Linked DNA regions of Homo sapiens: region 2 is linked to region 1. The links are contacts of gene promoters, found by promoter capture Hi-C in human tissues and cell types (Jung and others, 2019). All regions are on one chromosome and are shown on one strand. The core of a region is centred on a gene start or on the middle of the fragment in contact, and the rest is flanking DNA. Distances in the headings are between cores, read along the strand shown. Region 1 holds the start of POLL (DNA polymerase lambda). Region 2 overlaps TLX1NB (TLX1 neighbor).

Region 1 (6,016 bases), core at 2,342-4,841:
TAGCCGGGCTTGGTGGCGGGCGCCTATAATCCCAGCTACTCAGGAGACTGAGATAGGAGAATCGCTTGAACCCAGCAGGCAAAGGTTGCAGTGCGCCGAGATTGCGCCATTGCACTCCAGTTTGGGCAACAAGAGTGAAACTTGTCTCAAAAAAAAAAGTAAATTATGATTATCTGGGTGGTAATATTATATTTGACTTCTTTATTTTTCATATTTCCACAATGAATGTAATTATTTCTTAAAAAAACAAAAGTAAAATGGAGTCTCATTATCCAGCCCAAGATATCAATAGCCATGATTCTTGGTGGAAGGGAGTAACCTCCCCCCTACTCCCCACACCCCTCCTACACACCCAGGGGTAAATCTGCAGGTTTGACAAGGCTTAACCACATATGCAATACTGAGTTGTTTTTCAGTCTGGGGATAGGGTGGAATCTTAACAATATCATTTTGTGATGCTACTAACAAAAGAACTTAACAAAATCCTGGCTGATAAAATATTTGTTTAAAAACTTCTGTGACCAAAAACAGTGAAAGCAGGGACTCAAGTGGATATTTGTATACTCATGTTCAGAGCAGCATTATCCACAATACCCAAAAGGTGGAAGCAACCCAGGTGTCCATCAACAGATGAATAAATAAACAGAATGCAGTGTAGACATACAATGGATATCACTCAGCCTTAAAAAGGAGCAAAATTTTGACACATGCTACAATATCCATACCTCTGTGCCCACCTCTTCCAGGCACAGCCCTTGGTCCTTGCTCTATCTCCCCTAAAAACACAGGGAACATTTAGAGGTTTACTTTATGAACGATATTACAGCTGGAAAGGATCCAAACAAGTAAAGGGGCCAACTAGAGATCCTGTGGTGAATTAATGGCACAGCTGGAAGTATCCAACTGTGGCAACATGGATGAACCTTGAAGCGTTACACTAAGTGAAATACACCAGTTACAGAAAGACAAATATTGTATGATTCCACTTAGACGAGGTTCCTAGAGCAGTCAAATTCATAGACAGAAAGTAGAATGGTGGTTGCCAGGGGATGGGAGGAGGAGGGAATGAGGAGTTGGCATTTGGTGGGTACAGAATTTCACTTGAGCTGAGTGTAGTGGCACATGCCTGTAGTCCCAGCTATTCAAGAGGCTGAGGTGGGAGGACTACATGAGCCTAGGAGTTCAAGGCTGCAGTGAGCTATGATCGTACCCCACAGCCTGGGTGACAGAGCAAGACCCTGTCTCTAAAAAAAAAAAAAAAAAAAGAATTTCCGTTGAGAAAGATTAAAAAGTTCTGAAGATGGTGGTGATAGTTGCACAACAATGTGAATGTACTTAATGCCACAGAACTGTACACTTAAAAATGATTAAAATGCTAAATTCTGTTATGTATTTATTACCACAATAAAAACAAAAACCACTGTCCTATGAGAAAATGTCCTAAATCTTTAGCAAGGCATAAGAGATCTATCACAATATGTCCCAACTTATCTGTCATCTCTCTTCATTTTCCACAACTTCCCCTCATTGCTCCTTGAGAAAAGGGACCTTTTTATTCTCGCTTCCATCCTGGCACCTAGAATAGTACCTGACATAGTTATAGGTGGTTTGTTCTGACTGAGTGACTGCTTTAACATTACTAAACATTTTGTTATTCCTCTAGTAATCAGGCACGTACCTTCACACCTTCACATAGGGTCCTTATATGTGAGTTGTTCTTTGAATAGCTATCCCCTCTTCTTCACTCAGCAAACGCCTATTAATTCTTTTTTTTTTTTTTTTTTCCAGTTTTTTTGAGACAGGGTCTCGCTCTGTCGCCCAAGCTGGAGTGCACTGGCATGATCTCGGCTCACTGCTGCGTCTACCTCGCTGGCTCAAGCGATCCTCTGGCCTCAGCCACCACAAGTAGCTGGGACTACAGGCATGTGCCATGATGCACGGCTTATTTATTTTTTTGTCTGAGACACAGTCTCACTCACTCTGTCACCCAGGCTGGAATGCAGTGGTGTGATCTCAGTTCACTGCAACCTCCATCTCCCGGGTTCAAGCGATTCTCCTGCCTCAGCCTCCAGAGTAGCTGGAATTACGGGTGCGCACCACCACACCTGGCTAATTTTTTTGTATTTTTAGTAGCGATGGGGTGGTTTCATCATGTTGGCTAGGCTGGTCTCGAACTCCTGGCCTCAAGGGATCCGCCCACTCGGCCTCCCAACATGCTGGGATTACAGGCGTGAACCACCACATCCGGCCATAATTTCCGTATTTTTTGTAGAGATGAGGTTTGGCCATGTTGCCCAAGCTGGTCTCGAACTCCTGAGCTCAAATGATCCGCCCACTTTGGCCTCCCAGAGTGCTGGAATTACGGGCGTGAGCCACTGTGCCTGACCTTATTAATTCTTTAGGACCCAGAAACATCATCACTTCTGTTGGGTCTTCCTCCAAAGAGATGTCACTTACACCTTCACTCTTTCCTACCATTTTATACAAGACTACAACCTCTATTTAACGCTTCTTATTATTTAAGTACATGTTTTTCCCAACCACTCTGAGTCCTGGGACAACATATCTTTTTCTTTCTGTTCTAGTTTAGAGCTTGGCACATAGTAAAAGTCTTCCTAAATGTTGCACGAACGAGTAAATGATTTTAATTTCCACAAACTCCAGGCTTCCCTGATTGGCCCCTGCCTGTGAACATGAGTCACCAGTTGTTATCTTGAAAGCCTCAGGAACTTCAGACGCAATTCATCCTGGCTACCCAGTGGGTCCAGAAAGGACCCAAGTGCACAAAGGGGCCGGCATCGGCCAATCCTAGGGTGGGGAAAAGTTAGGTATCCATGCCCCTGTGCCCACTTCTTCCAGGCACAGCCCTTGGTTCTTGCTCTAGCTCCCCTAAAGACACAGAAAATATTTAGAAGTTCACTTAACAAAAATATTACAGCTGGAAAGGACCTCAGAGATAACAATGGTAGTCCATCCACTTCATTTTATAGATGAGGAAAGTGAGGCCCAAACAAGTAAAGGAGCCGACTGAAGCGCCCGTGGTGAATTAATGGCACAGTCGGAACTAGAGCCCAGGCCTCTCTCCTCTCTAAAGTCTAAAACATTCTTGGATTTCAGTTTCCTCTTCTGTAAAACGGGGTGAAAATTAGCCTCTCAGGACAGTGGTGAGGAGCAAATGAGATAATGAATGTAAAAGAAATTACTATATTAGCAACAGAAATCAGAGCGGAGCGAGATGGTGTAGAGGAATCTAAGGGGTGTCCGGAGACATGTGTTCCAGTCATGTCATCTCTGTGAACCTCAGTCTCCTCATCTGCAAATGCAGGACCTGGCCCGGCTGACCGCCGAGACCCTTCCAGCTCTGCCGACCCAGGCCCTGAGGCCCTTCCCGGAGGGCCGGACCCTGAGGGAAAAAAACGAAGGAGCCCGTGGGGACCCTCGAGTTACCGTCCTGCAGCAGCGCAGTCTTCTGGGCTGTCCGCAGACTCTCCAACCAGCCCGTCACCGCCATCTTTCCCCTGCTAAGCAGCACGCCCAGCCGCTGCCATGGCAACCGTTCCAGAGGGTCACTTCCGGCTGACTCGGAAGCTATTCTGGCCATTTGCCCTCCTTCCCCCCTTCGTCCGCTCTCATTGGCTCTGCTGGTAAGTGGTCTATTCCTGCCCACCCCCGGGTGACTAGCTTGGCCAGTAGTCGACCCCACCCGGGGACCGACTCTGGGGGTTGGAGAGACTCTTGGGGCCGGGGTCGGGCACTCCAGCTTTCTTCTAGCCCCGAGCTGGGATTCCCTGGCCTGCGCCAGCTGCGTACACGGCGAGTACACCGCACCTGCCCGGGACTTCACCCGCAGCTGCGAGACTCCTCCATTCCCGGAGGGCTCCCCACACCTGCTGCGGCCGTGCCCCATCTCCCCGCAGCTGCGGCGCTGAGCACCCCCATGTCGAGAGGCTGAGACCAGGACAGGTGCAGGGCGTTCCCACTCACCCCCGAAAGTCCTCCTCCTTCCTCTGCGAGTCTGTGTTGGAGGTAGAGAAATAGTATGTGGGGTTTATGTGCAGGTCCTCCCCAGGCTCCGCTCCATCCCCTAAAGCTCCATTTCCTAGCCCAGCATCCCATTTGGTAAAGCCCTTCGAAGTGGGCCGCAGCAGGGCTGTGCTGAATCTTTAGCGCAACCCCTCTGAGGAATGGTGTCGTTTCCTACTCCTCAAAAGTACCCCCGATGGCACCAGCCTTCCCCTCATTTCCCGTAATACTCCAACTTCGAAAGGCTGGGGAGTGTGAAGCTAGGCTAAACCACTGAAGTTTAACCGGGTTTGAAGAGACCCCCTCCCCCGACCCGCTTCCCCAAACTGGGCTGCTACCCCCAAAGCCTGGTCAGGAAAGACCCTACCTCCATAGGCAAAGGGGTTGGAGGGCCTCAATTCTGGATTTCCACGTGCAGCAGCCCTGACCAACGCTCCAATAGGCCGGGATCCAGCCATACTTCAATGGATCCCAGGGGTATCTTGAAGGCATTTCCCAAGCGGCAGAAAATTCATGCTGATGCATCATCAAAAGTACTTGCAAAGATTCCTAGGAGGGAAGAGGGAGAAGAAGCAGAAGGTGAGCTGACCCAGTCTCAGAACCCTCGTGTGCTTGAACCCACAGCCTTCATGTGCTTCAGCCCTACGTTGTTTATGTCCAGAATCAGATATTGGAGCTGACTCTGCCTGTCCAGGGCCTGCAGGTCTGTTTGTATCTACCTTGTGCTAAGCTTGGTCCTGGGTCTTGGACAGGCTATTTGCTGTGTTACCTTCTTTTCTACCCGAAGACCTCTATCCATCAGAAAAGACTCCCTGGGCCCTCAGGGAATGACCAGTATAATTTTTGCCCTGAGGACTGGGACAGAAACCCCCCTCCATTACCCAGGCTTGTTGTTAGTTGTTTTGCAGCCAAATTGGCAAATAAATGGCAGAGGCTTTGGAGGCAGGGTTGTCGGGTCTGTCAGACTGTAAGGGCAAGAAACGCGCTTTGTTGAAAGAATAAATGATAAAGGATTCAAAGTATGGAGAGAGGCTGGGCGCGGTGGCTCTTGCCTGTAATCTCAGCACTTTGGGAGGCCGAGGCAGGCAGATCACCTGTGCTCAGGAGTTCGAGACCAGCTTGGGCAACATGGCGAAACCCTGTCTCTACTAAAAATACAAAAAATTAGCCAGGCATGGTGGCACACGCCGGTAATCCCAGCTACTCGGGAGGCTGAGGCATGAGAATCGCTTGAACTCGGGAGATGGAGGTTGCAGTGAGCCAAGACGATGCCACTGTACTCCAGCCTGGGCGACAGAGTGAGACTGTCTCCAAACAAAAACAAAACAAAAGAAAACAAAACAAACAAACAAAAAACAAAGTAAGAAGGGAGGAGGCATTCATTAAACAAATATTTACAGGTTACTTACAATGTGCCAGACACTTCTAGATTGCACCAAGGAACAGGACGTATGAAAATCCTTGTCCCTTACATTCAAGTGCTGGCCTGTGAGAAAATTTGCTATATGTAGAAGGAAAGCTGTCTGGATGGAAGGGAAATGCTTATTTTCAGGGTAGGGGACTGTGAACACGTCATTCAGATCATGTTAGAAGTTATGTCGTGGCCAGGGGGTGGCAGATAAAAATTAAAAAGTTACAACAGTAGTCATCTGGATGTTCCTTCCACAGAGTGGCTGAGCTCCCTTCGGGCCCATGTTGTGCGCACTGGCATTGGACGAGCCCGGGCAGAACTCTTTGAGAAGCAGATTGTTCAGCATGGCGGCCAGCTATGCCCTGCCCAGGGCCCAGGTGTCACTCACATTGTGGTGGATGAAGGCATGGACTATGAGCGAGCCCTCCGCCTTCTCAGACTACCCCAGCTGCCCCCGGGTGCTCAGCTGGTGAAGTCAGCCTGGCTGAGCTTGTGCCTTCAGGAGAGGAGGCTGGTGGATGTAGCTGGATTCAGCATCTTCATCCCCAGTAGGTGGGCTGATCCCAGTCTTTTTTTCAAATG
Region 2 (5,563 bases), core at 934-3,433, 490 kb after region 1:
TAAAATAGACATAAGATTTGTTTTAGCTTCATCCATTGGATTAGCAAAAATTCAACGTACTGACAGTATCCAGCATGGGAGAGAGTGTGTACGTAAGTTGGTCTTCTCATCCTCTCTTGGAAGTGCCCTGAATTGGTTCAGTCTTCTTGATAGGTATTTTGGCAGTTTCTATTAAAATTAACAATACCCATCTTCATTTGACCAACTCTATTTCTAGATATCCATTATCCTAACAAAATAGCCATGTCTGCCCACAGAACCACATACCAGAGAGTTCACTAAGCAAATTTACAACAATGAAAAATCAGAAGCAACCTAACAGTCCACCAGTGGGAATGGGTGAATAAACAGTGGCACCCCCATCTATGGAATACTTAAGGTGAAGCAATTAAAAATAATGAGGTAGACCTCCATGTTCTGATATGGGAAAATGTGCATGCCATATTTTCATTCCAAGCCATATATATAGATAGATAGATACATTTTTTTTTGAGATGGAGTCTAGCTCTGTCACCCAGGCTGGAGCGCAGTGGCACGATCTCAGCTCACTGCAACCTCCACCTCCCAGGTTCAAGTGATTCTCCTGCCTCAGCCTCCCGAGTAGCTAGGATTACAGGCACCCGCTACCATACCTAGCTAATTTTTGTATTTTTAGTAGAGACGGTGTTTCACTGTGTTGGCCAGGCTGGTCTCAAACTCCAGACCCCATGATCCGCCTGCGTCGGCCTCCCAAAGTGCTGGGATTACAAGCGTGAGCCACCGCTCACTGGAAAAGCAAATTGCAGAAAAACAAAAATACTCAGGTACAAAGGTAAAAACCCAACAAAAAAATCGTATGTTTCTCCTTGAATAATATATACATGTAGGTAAATGCGTAGGAAATGATCTAGAAGGATACACAGTGAATTGACCACAGCAGTGACCTCTGCAGATGATTCTGGAATTGGAAGGATTATTTCATCTGTATTTCTTACAACAAGAATGCATTTTTAGTTTACTTTTGAAATTTAAAGTAAATTTAAATAAATGTGGTTCATTTGAATAAATGAATTAACAAAAGTTTCAGCAGTGAGTCTTGACATACACAAACACGAGGCACTAAGATTTTTATTCATTGCATGAAGAAAGAGGCCCCTTTTTGGCAGCAATTCTGCTTTAGCAAATGTCACAAGGACCCGCCTCCCATTCCACCCCTGGAATGTTAAAATTGGGGGCTGTCTAGACTGTTAGAGGGCTAAAGACCTTCAGTTTACACAGGTAAGGAAAGATGGCCAGGGCCCAAGTCATAGCTTCAGAAAGATCACAAAAGGCCCATGGAAGGCGGAGAGTGGCAAGGTGACTGTATTCTTGTTTGACTTGCAATTTGTCATCTTAGGGACAAGTCCAGGCCCAGGGGCTCATGGCTGTACTCACAGCACCTGGATTCGGTCCTAGTAATTCATGATAAATATTGAGTGACTGCTGGCACTAACAGTCACTTACATCAGGCAGCTCTTTGCAGTTGATACAATCCTGCCTTGCACATTTCCTCATTTGTTCCTCATAACCTCTGAGAGGTAGCTTCTACTGCCATCCCCATGTCACAGATGAGGAAACTGAAGTTCAGAGAGGTCAGACTTGGCCACGTTCACTCAGATAACAAGAGGCAGAGCAAGACTCAACTGCAGTCCTTTTGACCTCCTATCCCTAACTCCACTGTGGCAAAATCCCCCTGGGGTTACCATCTGCTCCCTCCCTCAGCTTTCTGGGTATGAGCCTTAGCCCTGGCCTGACATTTTCTCTGGGAAAAATCCAGTGAGGCTGATCCTAGGCAGAGGACTTAACTGAGCCTTGGTTGCTGATGAGGACTATGACAGGCAGTGCAGTTCAGTGGTGAAGATGCACGAGGCTCCAGTCCCAATTCCTAGCTGAGTGACCTTGGGCAAGTTATTTAACATCTTTGCCTATTTCTTCATCTGTAAAATAAGAATAGGAGAACCTGGCCAGTCACAGTGGCTCACGCCTGGAATCCCAGCACTTTGGGAGGCTGGGGCAGGTAGATCATTTGAGGTCAGGAGTTTGAGATCATCCTGGCCAACATAGCGAAACCCCATCTCTATTAAAAATACAAAAATTAGCCAGGCAGTAGTGGAGTGTGCCTGTAATCCCAGCTTCTCAGGAGGCTGAGCAGGAGAATGGCTTGAGCCTGGGAGGGGGAGGTTGCGGGTGAGCCGAGATCGCACCACTGCACAATCTATCTCTTGGAGATGTGAACATACACTGAGATAATACATATAAAGTCCTTAGTTTGGTGCCCAACATACTATTAGCTCTCACCAGATGCTCAAGATGATGGCAATTGATTACAGAATGGCCCTCCCAGCCTAGTGAGTGTGACTTGAATCTCAGTCTTACTGCACACTTGCACCGTAGAAAGAGCTATACCAGAGAGAGATGTGACAGAGCAGCCTGGGAACTGCAAAGCAGTTACTTGGTTAGGGGATTCTGAGCCAACATTTAGCTGACAAAAGGGAAAAATAAGGTCCCCAAACAGGAGAACAGGCCAAGTGTCCTTGGAGTGGGTAGACAGAGCTCAATGTGGGGAGGGGTCTGTGGTCAAGGTCAGGATGGGACTGGTGTGCCAAGCAGAGATGTCAGGAGAAATGGCCTGCGGGAGGTCTTTAGGGGGCACTTAGGGTTCACAAGGAGAGTCACCAGATGGGATCCAAGAGCAAGGGTGCCATTTGGATGCAGATTTCTCTTCATCTGGGCTTCCTTCTCTGGAAGGGAGCCAGAGAGGAAAAAAATGGAGAGCCAAGGTATGCAGAAGACCGAATCCCCAAAGCAGCCTCTAAGCCTTGGCAACTGCTGACAGGGAGCCTCCAGAGTCACTCAAAGTCAAGGAGAAGGGCTCTCCAAGGCACCAGTTCCATAACGCATTTCAGGCAGCTTCCTGTAGCCTCTCTCCCACCCTGGTCCCACAAGAAGCTAAGCCAAACAATGATCAGACCATAGAGTCAGTAGATGTGGAAGGAAGCTTCAGAGCCAACCAAGATGGGCACGCCTCTTCACCAGTTGCCAAGTCAGTAGCCAGCTCAGGGGTTACTCTGGAGCCTCCCTCATCTTCCCCCTCAGCCTCCACCCAACTGATCACTGAGTCTTCCACAAGACTACTAACTTCTCTCCCTCTGCACCCACCTCATTAGCCCAGGCCACCACCTTTCACCTGGAATGTGGCAACAGCCTCCTGGCTGATGTCTGATCCTCTGATGCATGATCCATCATCTCCCACATGGCCACAATAATACACCTTTCTAAAATATGTATCTGAACAAGCTTTCCCTCTGTTTAAAACCCTCTGGTGGCTCCTCATTGCCATGGCATCAAGTTTGAGCTCCTTGTCACAGTTTATAAGGTCCCTGCCTTCTTCTCTGGTCTTGTCTTATTATTCACCATCTCTTAATTTATGCTCCGATTGGCCAGAACTTCTATAACTCCTCAGGCTCTCACCCCAGAACTAGTCAACCGGAATCTGCATTTTAACAAGATCCCCTCGTGATTTGGATGCGCATTAAAGTTTGAGAAACACAGCTCTAGGCTAGTAGCTCCAAAATTCCCTAATAATTAGAATCATCTGTGGTATTTATTAAAAATGCAAATTACAGGGCCCTATCTTAGACTCACCCAATGACAATTTCCAGGGGAGGGAGCCTGGGAAGCTGTGTATTTAACACAATACATTTCAATACCTGAATACACTTCAATACTTGAAGCGTCCCAAGTGATTCTTCTCAGCAAGGATGCTTGGGAAACATCAGCAGTGGTTCTCAAGCTTGGCTGCACATTAGAATCACCTGGGAGAGCTTTAAACCTATATTTATTTTATTTTGTCATTTTATTTGCTTTTTTAGAGACTATCTGGAGTGCAGTGGCGTGATTATAGCTAACGGTAGCCTCAAACTCTTGGGCTCAAGTAATCTCCTGCCTCAGCCTCCCAAGTAGCTAGGACTGCTGGTGTGCACCACCATGCCCAACAATTTTTTTTTCTTTTTTCTTTTTTTCTTTTTTTCTTTTTTAGGTAGAGAGGCGGTCTCGCCATGTTGCCCAGGCTGGTCTTGAACTCCTGGCCTCAAGTAGTCCTCCTGCCTTGGCCTCCCAAAGTGTTGGGATTACAGGCATGACCCACCATTCCGTGCCTAAACCTGTAATAATGCCTGAGTACCAACCCAGAAATTCTGGTCTGGGGGCAGCCTCAGCATCAGGATCTTTCAAGTCTTCCCTGGGTGATTCCTGTCTGATGTGCAGCCACGGTTGAGAACCACTGTGCTAAGTAGATGATTTCCAAATGTAGGTGCATGGACTAGGTGCCCCAGAATCATTTGAGGAAGCTCAGGGGAGGCTGGGAATGGAAGTGAAACAGGGCTGAAGACCCTGGGATCTTAGTGGGGAATGGCCTTCAGAAGGTCAGAAGGGGAACCTGAAGTGAGAGCCTCCTACTGGGGGGGCCTTCACCTCCCCAGAGGGAGGAGGCAGCAGAAGCCACAGCATGCTGGGCTGGGGTGAGATAGAGGAGAATCCCCTCAGATCCAGAGGAGAATAATGAGTGCTGATGGGCTGGTGCCGGTGGGGCAGGGCAGCCTTGGGTCAAACATGTGAAGCTGGAGTAGACAGGTATGGCACCACACCTGCTCACTCTCACCATCCCTAACCAGTCCTCCTGAGCCTGGACCTCTGGCCATGTAGCCTGCAGCTCTGGGACACCACCCACCCCAGCTTGGCACTTGGCTGGGGCCTGAGCATGTTGTGGGGGTGCAAGTGGGGGAGAGAGGCAGAGGATGGAGATTGCTTATTGACCTTCCCAGGGACCTACATTTGACAGATGACAAAGTGCTCCACCCACACCTGCACCTCGTCCTCATGATTACCCTGTGAGACAGTTTCCTCCCCATTTGCAGGTAGCGACATGTAGACTCAGAGAAGTCATGTGCTCAAAGCCACAGAGCTGGTCAACAGCAGAGCAGACGTTGGCCGTTGGAGTTCTGGGATTTTTCCTCTAAGAGACAGCAACTGTCTTTCCCATGCGTGTTTGTGCGCTCACACAATCATACACTTGTAAGCAGTCACACCCCACATGGTCACACTAGTGCACTGCTCTGTCATACTCATTATTTCAAAGACCCACATGTTTACACTCTCATACTCAGCCTGGACCCCACCTCACAGGCACACACCCACACACAGCCACAGACGAGCACACTCCCAATCTCCAGCGTGCACACTCACAAAGACACAAATGTGCCCATACTCACCCTAATGAGCCCCTGGTGGCCCTCCCTCCTTCCAGAGCTCACGTGCCCTGCCCCTTCCTCACTGTGTGTGTGCATGTGCATGGCAGGGATAGGAAGCAGCTGTCTGGCTCCAATAGTCCACCTCCCATCCCTCCACCTGCCACATTGTGGCTCCAGCCCCAGGGCAGAGGCTGCCTGTGTTTGGGCAGCAGCCAGGGTTGAATGAGTAAGAGGAACCAGAACAGAGATCAGAATAGAAACCCCACCCTCATCCAGACCCTCCTCAAGAACTCAGA

What was found. Contacts are between HindIII fragments. The study calls those that stand out against the background at their distance.
Region 2: a fragment that was not itself captured here is called in contact with the fragment with the promoter of POLL in region 1 in 1 of the 25 tissues and cell types used here (lymphoblastoid cells).

What each region holds. Positions count from the first base shown.
Region 1 is chr10:101,585,832-101,591,847 of GRCh38, reverse strand. It overlaps POLL (DNA polymerase lambda), which reads left to right and starts at 3,591. Exons shown (of 9, transcript NM_001174084.2): 1 at 3,591-4,026; 2 at 4,442-4,602; 3 at 5,692-5,986. The coding sequence starts at 4,488. It overlaps DPCD (deleted in primary ciliary dyskinesia homolog (mouse)), which reads right to left and starts at 3,527. Exons shown (of 6, transcript NM_015448.3): 1 at 3,448-3,527. The coding sequence starts at 3,511. RefSeq lists enhancers at 3,242-3,571, 3,672-3,951. The HindIII fragment of the contact is 10,926 bases long and covers 1-6,016 here.
Region 2 is chr10:101,099,471-101,105,033 of GRCh38, reverse strand. All of the region lies in intron 2 of TLX1NB (TLX1 neighbor), which reads left to right. Among named protein-coding and RNA genes, the nearest start is that of TLX1NB, 29 kb to the left of the region's middle. The HindIII fragment of the contact is 7,471 bases long and covers 1-5,563 here.